Regions from separate parts of the Homo sapiens genome. Here region 1 is linked to region 2. Evidence: promoter capture Hi-C in 16 types of primary human blood cells and fetal thymus (Javierre and others, 2016). All regions are on one chromosome and are shown on one strand. The core of a region is centred on a gene start or on the middle of the fragment in contact, and the rest is flanking DNA. Distances in the headings are between cores, read along the strand shown. Region 1 holds the start of LOC105377392 (a long non-coding RNA gene). Region 2 holds the start of NDST3 (N-deacetylase and N-sulfotransferase 3).

What was found. Contacts are between HindIII fragments. The CHiCAGO score rates a contact against its expected background, and 5 or more counts as called.
Region 1: a contact is called between a fragment that was not itself captured here and the fragment with the promoter of NDST3 in region 2, in 2 of 17 cell types (megakaryocytes and erythroblasts). The highest score is 13.1, in megakaryocytes.

The regions. Positions count from the first base shown.
Region 1 is chr4:118,264,328-118,270,259 of GRCh38, reverse strand. It overlaps LOC105377392 (a long non-coding RNA gene), which reads left to right and starts at 4,227. Exons shown (of 3, transcript XR_939113.3): 1 at 4,227-4,476. LOC124900765 (a long non-coding RNA gene) reads right to left here and starts at 4,309. Exons shown (of 2, transcript XR_007058244.1): 1 at 4,278-4,309; 2 at 3,489-3,809. The HindIII fragment of the contact is 3,524 bases long and covers 1-3,083 here.
Region 2 is chr4:118,032,446-118,038,357 of GRCh38, reverse strand. NDST3 (N-deacetylase and N-sulfotransferase 3) reads right to left here and starts at 3,872. Exons shown (of 14, transcript NM_004784.3): 1 at 3,766-3,872. The HindIII fragment of the contact is 5,573 bases long and covers 3,562-5,912 here.

The DNA.
Region 1 (5,932 bases), core at 72-2,571, 230 kb before region 2:
ATTCATTTCCTACTGTCTGAAGTAGTTAATACACTGTTAATGTGTTGTATATCAAACTAGACAATGATTCTGTTGGAGAAATAAAATATTTCTGCCCAGTCTACTGGAGGGCAAGAATGTAGTCATATTCATCTTACCTGCAGTAGTACTTTGGAACATGCTCAATGAAACGTTTGTTGAATGAGGAAGCCAGGATGATAAAAGTGAAAAAGAATTCTGGGAAATTATACATAATGTACAGAAGGAAAAATGAATGCAGGGTAGTACATTTAAGCAAAACTGGCAAACTTTTTTGAATGTAGCTTAGTATATTACGGCAAAGTCGACTAACTCTTTTGGCCTCAGGCACATCTTACCTCTCTCTTTGCCAAAAAGTTTAAATTAAGTCTCCCCGCTGCAATAGGACTATATTTCAAATTTTATAATGGAAATCATTTCAGAGAGAAAAATTCTATGGCAAACTTTGAAACTAATTCCTATTAGTTAGTATTTATAACTGGAATAGGTCTTCACTGTCTCTACCAAAAAATACAAAAATTAGCCAGGCGTGGTGGCAGGTGCCTGTAATCCCAGCTACTCAGGAGGCTGAGTCACGAGAATCACTTGAACCTGGGAGGTGGAGGTTGCAGTGAGCCGAGATTGTGCCACTGCACTGCAGCCTGGGTGACAGAGTGAGACTGCATCTCCAAAAAAATAGAAAATCAAAAACGTAAAATAAAAGACTTCAGATGCTATATAAGAATAAATCCAATTTAAGTTAAATGATGAGAGCACATAGACACATAGAGAAGAACAGTACACACTGGGCCTACCTGAGGGCGGAGGGTGGGAGGAGAGAGAGGATCAGGAAAAATTACTATTGGGTAGTAGGCTTAGTACCTGGGTGATGAAATAATCTGTACAACAAACTCCCATGAAACACATTTACCTTTGTAACAAACCTGCACATCTTGCACATATACCCCTGAATTTAACATAAAAGTTTTTTTAAAAAAACATGCTATGGCTGATACATGCTATAGATGAAACTCAGAACCATGTCACTAAGTGAAAAGAGGCCAGACACAAAAGACTACATACTGTATGAATCTATTGATATGAAATGTTCAAAAAAGGCAAATTTACAGTGACAGAAAACAGATCAATGGTTGACTGGGGCTGGGTTGGGGGCAGGGCTTATCTTCAAATGGGCATGAGGAACCCCGTCTATCAGCCTTCTATCTGGGTGTCAGAGATCTTCTGACATCAGATCGCCATGATGGCTATTCAATTCCATTAATGACTCAGCAGTTATGAGATGTACACTTCACCTGGGTGAGTTTTACAGTAGCTAATCATACACCCTCAAAAGGTCTATTTAAAAAGTCATAAATGAATAGATTAATTTCCACCTTCCTGGACAGTGCTCAACCAGCCTTTCCATATTCACTCTTTAAAGTTCACTCTGTCACCGTGTATTCTACCTGTAACCTGTTTCTGGATTCTGCATGCTAACATTGCGTTGAGAATTGTGCCTCTTTATTCAGGAATATGATTGGTCTATAGATTTGTTTTCTGCCATCTTTGTAAAATTTCAAACAAAAAGTTTAAAATAAATGTCATACTTACACTATAGAGAGAAAAATAAATATATTTCATCTCCAAATGAACAATCATTAAAAAAACCTTCAACTGAATATGTAAGACGTGTTAGTAGTTATTTCTTAATTATATAAGTAAAACTATAGAAAACTAAGTAGAATAGAACCAGATAAGTGACTTTTGTATTTCTCTAATTTAAAACCCTTTTATCAGGATGATAATTTATGTAAATGGGCAGTATTTCTTAGAAAACAGAAGGTCTAGAAAGAAATCTCTGCAATTGAGGACTTAAATTTGATAAAAGCCATACGAATTTTGAAATACCCACCATTCTTTATAGCACTGAACAGAACTTACTGAAAAGGACTAAGAAAGTAAATTATATAAAATAACACAAAAGGGTTCTGAAAATAATTATTTACAGTATCTTTTTTTTTTTTTTGAGAGTCTTGTTCTGACGCTCAGGCTGGAGTGCAGTGGCAGATTTCGGCTTACTGCAACCTCCGTCTCCAGAGTTCAAGTGATTCTCCTGCCCCAGCCTCCCAAGTAGCTGGGATTACAGGCGTACGCCACCACGCCTGGCTAATTTTTGTACTTTTAGTAGAGACGGGATTTCGCCATGTTGGATAGGCTGGTCTCCAACTCCTGACTTCAGGTGATCTGCTCACCTCAGCCTTCCAAAGTGCTGGGATTACAGGTGTGAGCCACTGCACCTGACTACAATTATTTACAGTCTCTAAGGGAGATAGTAGTAATGGTGATAACTAATGTTTATTGAGTACTTATGTGCTCATTAACTCATTTAATCCTAACAATTGTATGAGCGCTATACAATTATTGTCTCTAATTTACAGATGAATAGATTGAGGCACAGAGAAATAATGTAATTAACCTAAGGTTTGAAGTGGATTTGAATGTAGTCTCACTGGCTCAGAGCCCATGCTCTTAACTGGTGTTGTGTGTAAAGGGAGAAAAATGATACTAGGTATAAAATAAGTCTGAGCTTTGCTACTTGTGTGACCTTGGGAAAATTATCTATCCATTCCAAACCTGTTTCCTCATCTGTAGAAGGAAACCAGCAGTATCTTCCTTTTGGTATTATTGTTAGGATAACTTATAAGAATTATCTGGTAATTATCATTTAAAAGTTAGAGGTTTTGTTTTTTTGTCCTACATTTAATAATTATTTTGCTAATTTTAATTATTATTTAAAATTGAATTTATTTTTTGTTATTTAGAAGACAGTTTTAAGTCTTTGTATGATTGGGGAAATATATATTTTTGTTAATCGAATTTATTGATTTTTATGAAAAGTTATACTTTTTTCTAGCACTTAAATATAAGAACATATGTATGTTAAAACTGTCATGTCTTTTCCAGTTACTTATTGTGAAATTAATTCAACAAGTATTTATTGAGCACTTATTATTTCAGAGACTAGACCCATCGATGTGGGGATATATTGATGAAAGAAAAGACAAATAGTTTGCTTTCGAGAAGCTTATTCAAGTAGGAGAAGACAAAAGATCTAATAAAATTGGTAAACTACAGAATTAGTTATAAGATTTTAAGTGCTATGGTTCAAAAAAGATTAGTTCGGAGTAATAGGAATCAGGAGTCAGGGAAGGGAGGAAGGGGTGAAATTTTATGTAAGGTTGTCAGGGTAGGCCTTATTGAGAAAATGACATCTGAGCAAAGACTGAACTACAGTGTAGAAGTTAGCCACGTTGATATTTGTGGGCATGTTAACATGAATGTCTTAAATAAGATAGTCAGCAAGGGAGCCAGTGCAACTGTTGCAGAATGAGAGTTTGAAAAGAGGAGCTGCGGTTAGAAAGGTGATGAATACCACATCATGTAAGGCCTTGCAGGCCACTATAAGGACCGTAGCATAAAAAGTAGAGCTATTGCAGGAATTAAAGTGCTTTGATTTAATTTGTAAAAGGATTATGTCCGGACTTGGTGGGTTCTTGGTCTCACTGACTTCAAGAACAAAGCCACGGACCCTCCCGGTGGGTGTTACAGTTCTTAAAGGCAGCGTGTGCAGAGTTTGTTCCTTCTGATGTTCGGATGTGTTCGGAGTTTCTTCCTGGTCTCGCAGCTTGTTTTTTCCTTCTGGTGGGTTCGTGGTCTTGCTGGTTTCAGGAGTGAAGCTGCAGACCTTCATGGTGAGAGTTACAGCTCATAAACACAGTGTGGACTCAAAGAGTGAGCAGCAGTAAGAGTAACTGCAAAGAGCAAAAGAACAAAGCTTCCACAGCGTGGAAGAAGACCCAAACAAGCAGGCTGCCACTGCTGGCTAGGGCAGTCTGCTTTTATTCCCTTATCTGGCCCCACTCACATCCTGCTGATCGGTCCATTTTACAGAGAGCTGATTGGTCCGTTTTGACAGGGTGCTGACTGGTGCGTTTACAATCCTTGAGCTAGACACAAAAGTTCTCCAAGTCCCTACTAGATTAGCTAGACACAGAGCACTGATTGGTGCATTTACAAACCTTGAGCTAGACACAGGGTGCTGATTGGTGTGTTTACAAACCTTGAGCTAGACACAGGGTGCTGATTGGTGTGTTTACAAACCTTGAGCTAGACACAGGGCGCTGATTGGTGTATTTACAATCCCTTAGCTAGACAGAAAGGTTCTCCAAGTCCCCACTAGACTCAGGAGTCCAGCTGACTTCACCCAGTGGATCCTGTACCTGGACCGCAGGTGGAGCTGCCCGCCAGTCCCGCGTAGTGCGCCCGTACTCCTCAGCCCTTGGGCGGTCGATGGGACTGGGCGCGGTGGAGCAGGGGGCGGCGCTCGTTGGGGAGGCTCCCGCCGCGCAGGAGCCCAGGTGGGGGGAGGCGCAGGCATGGGTGGCTGCAGGTCCCGAGCCCTGCCCCGCGGAGAGGCAGGTAAGGCCAAGCAAGAAATCGAGCGCAGCGCTGGTGGGCCGGCACTGCTGGGGGACCCGGCGCACCCTCCGCAGCTGCTGGCCCAGGTGCTAAGCCCCTCAATGCCCGGGGCCGGCGGGGCCGGCTGGCTGGCCAAGCCGCTCCGAGTGCGGTGCCCGCGGAGCCCACGCCCACCCGGAACTCGCGCTGGCGCGCAAGCGCCGCGCGCAGGCCAGGTTCCCGCCCGCGCCTCTCCCTCCACATCTCCCGGCAAGCTGAGGGAGCCGGCTCCGGCCTCAGCCAGCCCGGAAAGGGGCTTCCACAGTGCAGCGGCAGGCTGAAAGGCTCCTCAGCGCGGCCAGAATGGGCGCCGAGGCTGAGGAGGCGCCGAAAGCGAGTGAGGGCTGTGAGGGCTGCCAGCGTGCTGTCACCTCTCAGGATTACCCTGGATGTTGGGTTAATAGCGGATTGTAGTACAGATACCTGGAAGTAGGGAGGATAACCAGGATAAAGATTATGGCATCTTTTTTTTTTTTTTGAGACACAGTTTTGCTCTGTCGCCATGTTGGAGTGCAGTGGCGCGATCTTGACTCACTGCAACTTCCGCCTCCTGGGTTCAAGTGAGTCCCCTGCCTCAGCCTCCTGAGTAGCTGGGACTACAGGTGTGTGTCACCACACCCGGCTAATTTTTTATTTTGAATTTTAGTAGAGATGGGCTTTCACCATGTTGGCCAGGATGGTCTCAATCTCCTGACGTTGTGATCCACTCGCCTTGGCCTCCCAAAGAGCTGGGATTACAGGCGTGAGCCACCGCGCCCAGCTGATTATGGCATCTTAGAATGAGGTGGCAGCCCTGGATTTGGTGAGAAGTGGTTGGTTTTGGATAGAAGTGAAGATTGAGCCAACAGGATTTCTTGACAGATCAAATGTGGGGTTTGCTAACCAAGGGATTCACTATCCTATAGTATTCACAGTTCTTGCCTACACTCAAGGAGATAGGATCATATAAAGGCATCATCACTCTTAGAGTGTGTCTACCACAAGAATGGAATAGGTTTTTTGGAGGAAGATGGTAATCCACAGATGAACCTCACCTGCAGACTCAACCCTGACTACATCACTGTGTGTACACTGGATCATCTTAACTGAGGCAGAGCCTATCACTAACCTCAAACCCTAGCTGAGTGCCCTTTTTCCCTGAGTATCCATTGTTGCTAATTGGACCTGAAATGTAATGCTTATGTAGTGCGTAAAAATTCCATAATTCACAACCTGTCCAAAATAGAGCTTTCTTTAGTTTTTAATAATTGTCCCCATTCAAGATATGATTTTTAAATATCTTTTAGGAAAACCCAGTCAAAGTCAAGATTGTTCTCTCCATTTCTTCCAAAGGTGGTCATGGCAGTGGACATGAAGTGGTAGGGTAACATCTGTTCTCAGCCATCATCTCTCCTCTGCTGGCATTGGATGAACCTCA
Region 2 (5,912 bases), core at 2,623-5,122:
ATATGTTTTATTCACCTCCCTCAGTGTTATGCCATCCAGTGATGCAAGAGAAGAAAACTACCCCACTGCTGTTTGCTGTTTATTCTGCCCTATATGACTTAAGGGGGAAAATGTCTGCCTTTACCCTCTAAGATTGGACCAGAATGCATGCATCAAAATACGCTGACATATTCTGTCACACATGCTCACATATGACATATGTGAGTGCTGACAATGCAGCTTTTAGGGTCTAATCCAAACCTTTTCTTTGTCCTTCATTAGACTCATGGGAACAAGAGAGTGTTAACCTGGCCTCTCATTGGTTGCCTGGACCATTAGATGTAAAGTTACAGATCAGTGTTGGCTATGTTTTAGGGCAGGTTACATGAACCAGATAAGGAAAGACAGCCAATCTGCAGAGAGAAGATGATGCAAAAAGAGTAGAAACGAATAATGAAAAAATATGATATAGGGAGTCTTGAGGAGGTTGAAGGTTCTATTACTCTCTATTCTATGGACACATCAATAAAGGCGTCAGGTAAATTATTCTTCTGTTACCTTGGGCACATTTTAGAACAAGTGAGACTCAACCTAACAGCAGTAGCAAAAGAGGAGAAAGAAATCACCTGAACTAGACTGTATATACTTAGCTAGGGAAGGCACCACATTTAATTGTCCTGTGGACTCCTTTATGCCTGGTGCAAAAGTAGATGCTTAGTAAATACCTCCTGGGTGAATGAATGAGTATTTCATATGTAAGGGAAGTGATGGAAATTGTTGGAGTGGTATATGGATTACCTCTGTTCCATCAAGAGGCATATCAAGAACAAATATTTGAAACCTATAGAGAGACAATGTAGTATAACGGTTAAAGGAATGTGTGCTGGAGCCGGACTCAAACTGCATACCAGCTTCAGCACTTGCCAGGGATGTGATCTTAGGCAGGTAGGTAACCGCTCAGTGCCTCAATTTCCTCATTTGTGAAACAGGAATAATATTTACCTTAAATAATCTTTGTGAAGATTATATGAGCTAAAAATTAATATGTAAAGTAGAACAGTGCCTGGTACAAGGTAACTATTCTATGAGTAAAAACTGTAACATCTCTACTTAGCAGAAATCTAGACAATAGTACTTATCACCAAGTTAAATTTTGTATTATTCACTGATGTTTTCTCATCTATCTTCGTCCTGGCCTCCAGATCAATTTCTAAAATGTTGAACAAACAGGATAAAAAAGGGTCTCTGGAATCCTCATTTTTCAGGTGAAGAAACCAAGCCCCAGAGCCAGCAAGGGAGCTGTTCAAGGCCACTCCTGTCTTGGCAGAGCCAGTCCTAGAATTTAGGTCTACTTTCATGTTATTTTCAAATATTTTAATGAAAAAAAAAATTCAGCAATGAAACACATGTAAAATGGATACCCATAATTGAGATGCTTAAAGGTTTTAGGATAGGACTGCAATAATTGATTTTTAAGCTCTTATTTGGCAACAGGTAATCAAGAATTATAGCCCTCAGTAATTTGTAGAAGATTTGGGGAAATAATTTCTTATAGACATTAATTAATTGTAGTAGGTCCTGACTACTTTTTTTTTCTTGTCCTGTAACTTACATGAAATCGATGAAAATGTTTAGAGTAACATGAAAGAATAAATCACTCACTGTGATATCCAGGTATCTAAGAGTATAGTTTTTTACTATAAACAAACAGACAAACCAAGAAATATTAAAATCACCCCTTTACGAGAAACTTCAGTCATGAAATAGTTTTGAGGATTGTTCAGACTAATTATCTTTATAATGTAGGTCGTTACTTTTGTGGCCTGGCAGCATTCCTAATCTGGACAGGTGTTCAGAGTTCATGCATTTCAGTGTGAATGCTCATTTATAATAGACACAGCACAGGGAAAGTAAACTTCTACTGTTTTCCCTTACTGTCAGAACTGTTAAGCAATTAGAAATTCAAGGCATTCATTTAGTTGAGAATAGTGTTTTTATCCTTAATTCAATTTCCCTGATTTTATAGTGTATATAAATCACAAAGTATTTACATATAGTTTAAAAAAATATATTTTGCATCTTAACAAATGCACTTTTAAGGCTCTAATCACCAAAAAGCAGCTGAAACTCAATCAGGTTTCAAGGAAGTCATATAATCAGAGTCCCAAGATTAAAAGAAAAAAAATTGTAATTTCTTTACAGTTTTAAAATTTTGAAATGACAGGTAGACAATTACATATTTACATTTTAGCTTATAATAACTTCTTTAGCAGAATATATGGTTTAGAAAAAGAATCTCCAATGCCTGATTATCTCTTCTACTATATATTTTTTAACAAACTTTTCAGTTACACCAAAAATTAATATTTGCCTCAATGTTCAGAAATAATGCTTTTCTCAAGAAAATTAATTTAAAAAGAGGGTATATATAACTCCACCAAACTAAACTATAACAAATATCTCCAGAAAGAGATAAAAGTTTTATTTTATCTAAAACATTTTAGTAATGTAAGAATTCTTCATTTTAAAGACTATGAAGAAAATTAACTCATGTGACAAGCTCAAAATTAACATTATTTACACAAAGAAACAAATCTTCTGTTTTACCATCAAGATGATAAAGAAAAATGATAACAAAATTAGAAATGGTAGATACTGTGTTAACCAGAGAAAGAAAAAAAAGAGCTTATCTTAGGCAAGCCTCTTTATATGTTCAGTACTATTTTAAAAAGGAGCCTCCTTCAAACTTATATTTGAAATCTCCATCTTAAATATAATATTGATAGGAAGGTATGGATGAAGAAAAAGGGAAAAAAATTCCCTTCAGCTGAATATCGGATATTCTAGAGTTTCTCTGCCATATCATCCTGCTCTCTGGTGGTGAACAGCATTGCTCAGTAGTTGATAACATGAAATTTTCTAAGGGCAAAAAAAAAAAACAAAAAAAAAGTGTGTGTCCCAGATCAGTTGCACACATCTCAATATTTGATTTGTATTTTAATTTAATACAAATGTATTAAGAATGTAGCTGTTTGCATTGTCTAGAAGGGTTTTCTTCTAAACTCTTCCAGATTACATGTTGCTATATTTCAATATGTTTATAAAGAATATAGATACTAATACATTTTCGACATTAAATAACTCTGATGCTTAAACAGTATCCAGCTATTAGAAAAACTATTTGAAAAAGGATCTGAGTAAACCCCTTAAAGATGTAACTTTGCTTTTACCTGCCCCCACAAAATGGATATATTAAATAGAAGATATATCTGTTTTCTTTAAATTTAAAGTTTCTGTATTTGATACCTAGATTGATTCTTTCCATTTCCATTTAATTTTATTAATTGTATAGTTTTAAATAATGTCTATAAACTGCATCAAATAGAAAGCCTTTTGAGGATCATTACTGTGTAGATAGGCAGGTAGTTTAAAGTCTCTGATATTCCTTACAAAATTCTGTCAAGGCAACAGACATGTGTTCTGTTAAACAGATCTACTTCAGAATCATTATAAGTTGGTGAATATCTTAAACAATTACAAGAGGTCATTTCTTTAGTACCATAATCTTATGAAAGGGAAGCTTTAAAATCATCCCTGAATGAGACGGTCCTTTGTTTCACTTAATTTAATCAAAATACTCTATATTTCTTCTTCAAGAATAAAATGAAGCACTTGTTCAATCTTGAAATTTTTAGATTATTTGAAAGCAAAGTTGTTATCTCTTAAAAGCCCCTACATTTATGAGTGAGGCATTAATGCACAGTATAAATAAATAAATACACTTACCTGGAATTAAAGTTCAGAGCTGAAAATGCTTGAGAAAGTTGCAATAGATGGAAAAGAAACGGAAACAGTACCACTCGTTACCATCGGCTCAGGCTTTTTGACTTTACAAGTGGTAGCAACACCAGTCCTGGCCCAGTACTCTCATGTTATGTAACATCTTATTAATATTAGCCATCAAACTGCTACCAAGCTGGTGAGGCACTAGAGGGCAAGAGTGTCACATGCAAGACCCGTCGCCAAGGGACCGGCTTTGGTACCACTTCGGGGGAAGACAGATGCTAACTAAGCTGATGAATAACAGGATGCCCGAATACAACAGCAAACTTGTAACGTTCCTCAAAGAATATTTTACATGTCAATTTTCTGACTAGCGGAAGAGTTAACAGGTTAATAAATATGAGCAAGCAAATAACCACACCATGAAAAACTTTTAGGATTATATTTACAAACCCACAGTCACTCAAGAGGCTGTTTGTTTTTTTCTTTCCATTGTCTAAATAAACTTATTTAAAACAGGAGAAAAAAGCTGGTTAAATAAAACGAGTGTCGGTTTCAGGACTCCCTCATTCCAAGCCGCGAGAAACTTGTCTGGTCGAGATGCCGCCTCTGGAGTCCGCATTCCAAGGCGCCCGGATCGGGTTTCTGGGCGAGGAGACCGGCCCCGTCCTCCATGGAGATTACCTGGGGCTGCAGCCGTCCGCGGGCTCCTCCTTCCCTCGGGTCTTCGGCCTCAGCCGCTCCCCAGGGCCCCTCGTCCGGGTGGCGCTTGGGTGCTACGCGGTGCCCGGGGTCCGGCGGGGGCGACAAGCGGGCGACCTCTCCCCTCCGCGCCCGGGATCTGCGCGGACACAGCTGGTGGCGACTTCGGCCGCTCAGGCTGCGGCTGCGGGGCGAGCGCAGCGGGTGCGCCGGGGACTCCTGCGCTGGAGAACCACGGCCCTGGGACCCGCCCGGCCGCGCCTCCGCCGCCCTCGCCACCGCCTCCCGGGCGGGAGCCGCCGCCTCCCAGCTCCCGGCCCGCGCGCGCCCGCCCCGGGGAAGGGGAGGGAGCGGGAGCTGAGGACGGGAGCCGCCTCCATCGACCGGGCTCCCGCCCGGACCGGCCCTGAGGATCTGGCTGCCCGGGCCTCGACAAGGAGACCCCGGGGGTTCCGCCCCGGCCTGCCAGTTCCGACCGCCCCTCCCGGCGGGTTGGCGGCGGCCGCCAAGGATGAAACGTCTTGTGCGGCCAGGGAAAGGGGTGCGAGTCCCCGAGGCGACGCTGGAAGGGTGGGGCGCACCCGCGCGGTCCCTTCCTGTGGTGCTCCTGCCGTTGGCACTGGACCAGGGCGGCTGCGAGGCTGCAAGAGTTTCCTCTGTTCGCCAGTTTTTTTCAAATGCCATGTGTTTCAGCTCCTGAAGACAAGTGGAAGGCCAGCAACTGAAGAGATATTTTGGATTCAAGGTGTGAGGTTACCCTCTCCAGAACTATAGTTTGATTAGAAGTGTGAATCGAATGATATATATTTTTAAAAATTTCATTTGGTTCCACTAACATGTGAATTGTATTAAGTGGGGTCTACTAATGATACTTTGTATTGGCCATTTGTGGTTTTGCTTCCCAGCACTCACTCTTGTTGAAACAGTACTCCTGTTCATTTTGGAAGATCCAACCACTTGATCTCACCCCGCAGCCCATTTGCTTTAGGTGATGTCAGCCGCTGCTGACTCACTGGTAGACCCACAGCTCAGGTCTGGCCAGTGATGGCTTTCTGTCCTGGTAGCATGGGTAGGTATGTAACCCAGGTCTGGCCAATCAGAGAGAAAAACAGAAAAAAACCACCATTCTGGGACTTTTTTTTTTCCTTCCTCTCTTAAGAAAGTGGACTCTCTTCTACTGGACTTTGCATAATGAAGATGTGAGCTTAGAGCTTGAAGTCTGAAAATAAAGCTGATACTCAGGAAGGCAGAACTGAGAGTTGGAGAAAAGTGAAACCCAGATGGAGATTTTCGAGCTTGGAATCGAGCTGTAGCTGAAATAAGTTCTATCTCTGGATATTTTCATTCATAAACAAATACATTCACTTTTTTTTTTGATTCGGAGTCGCGCTCTGTCGCCCAGGCTGGAGTGCAGTGGCGTGATCTCAGCTCACTGCAAGCTACGTCTC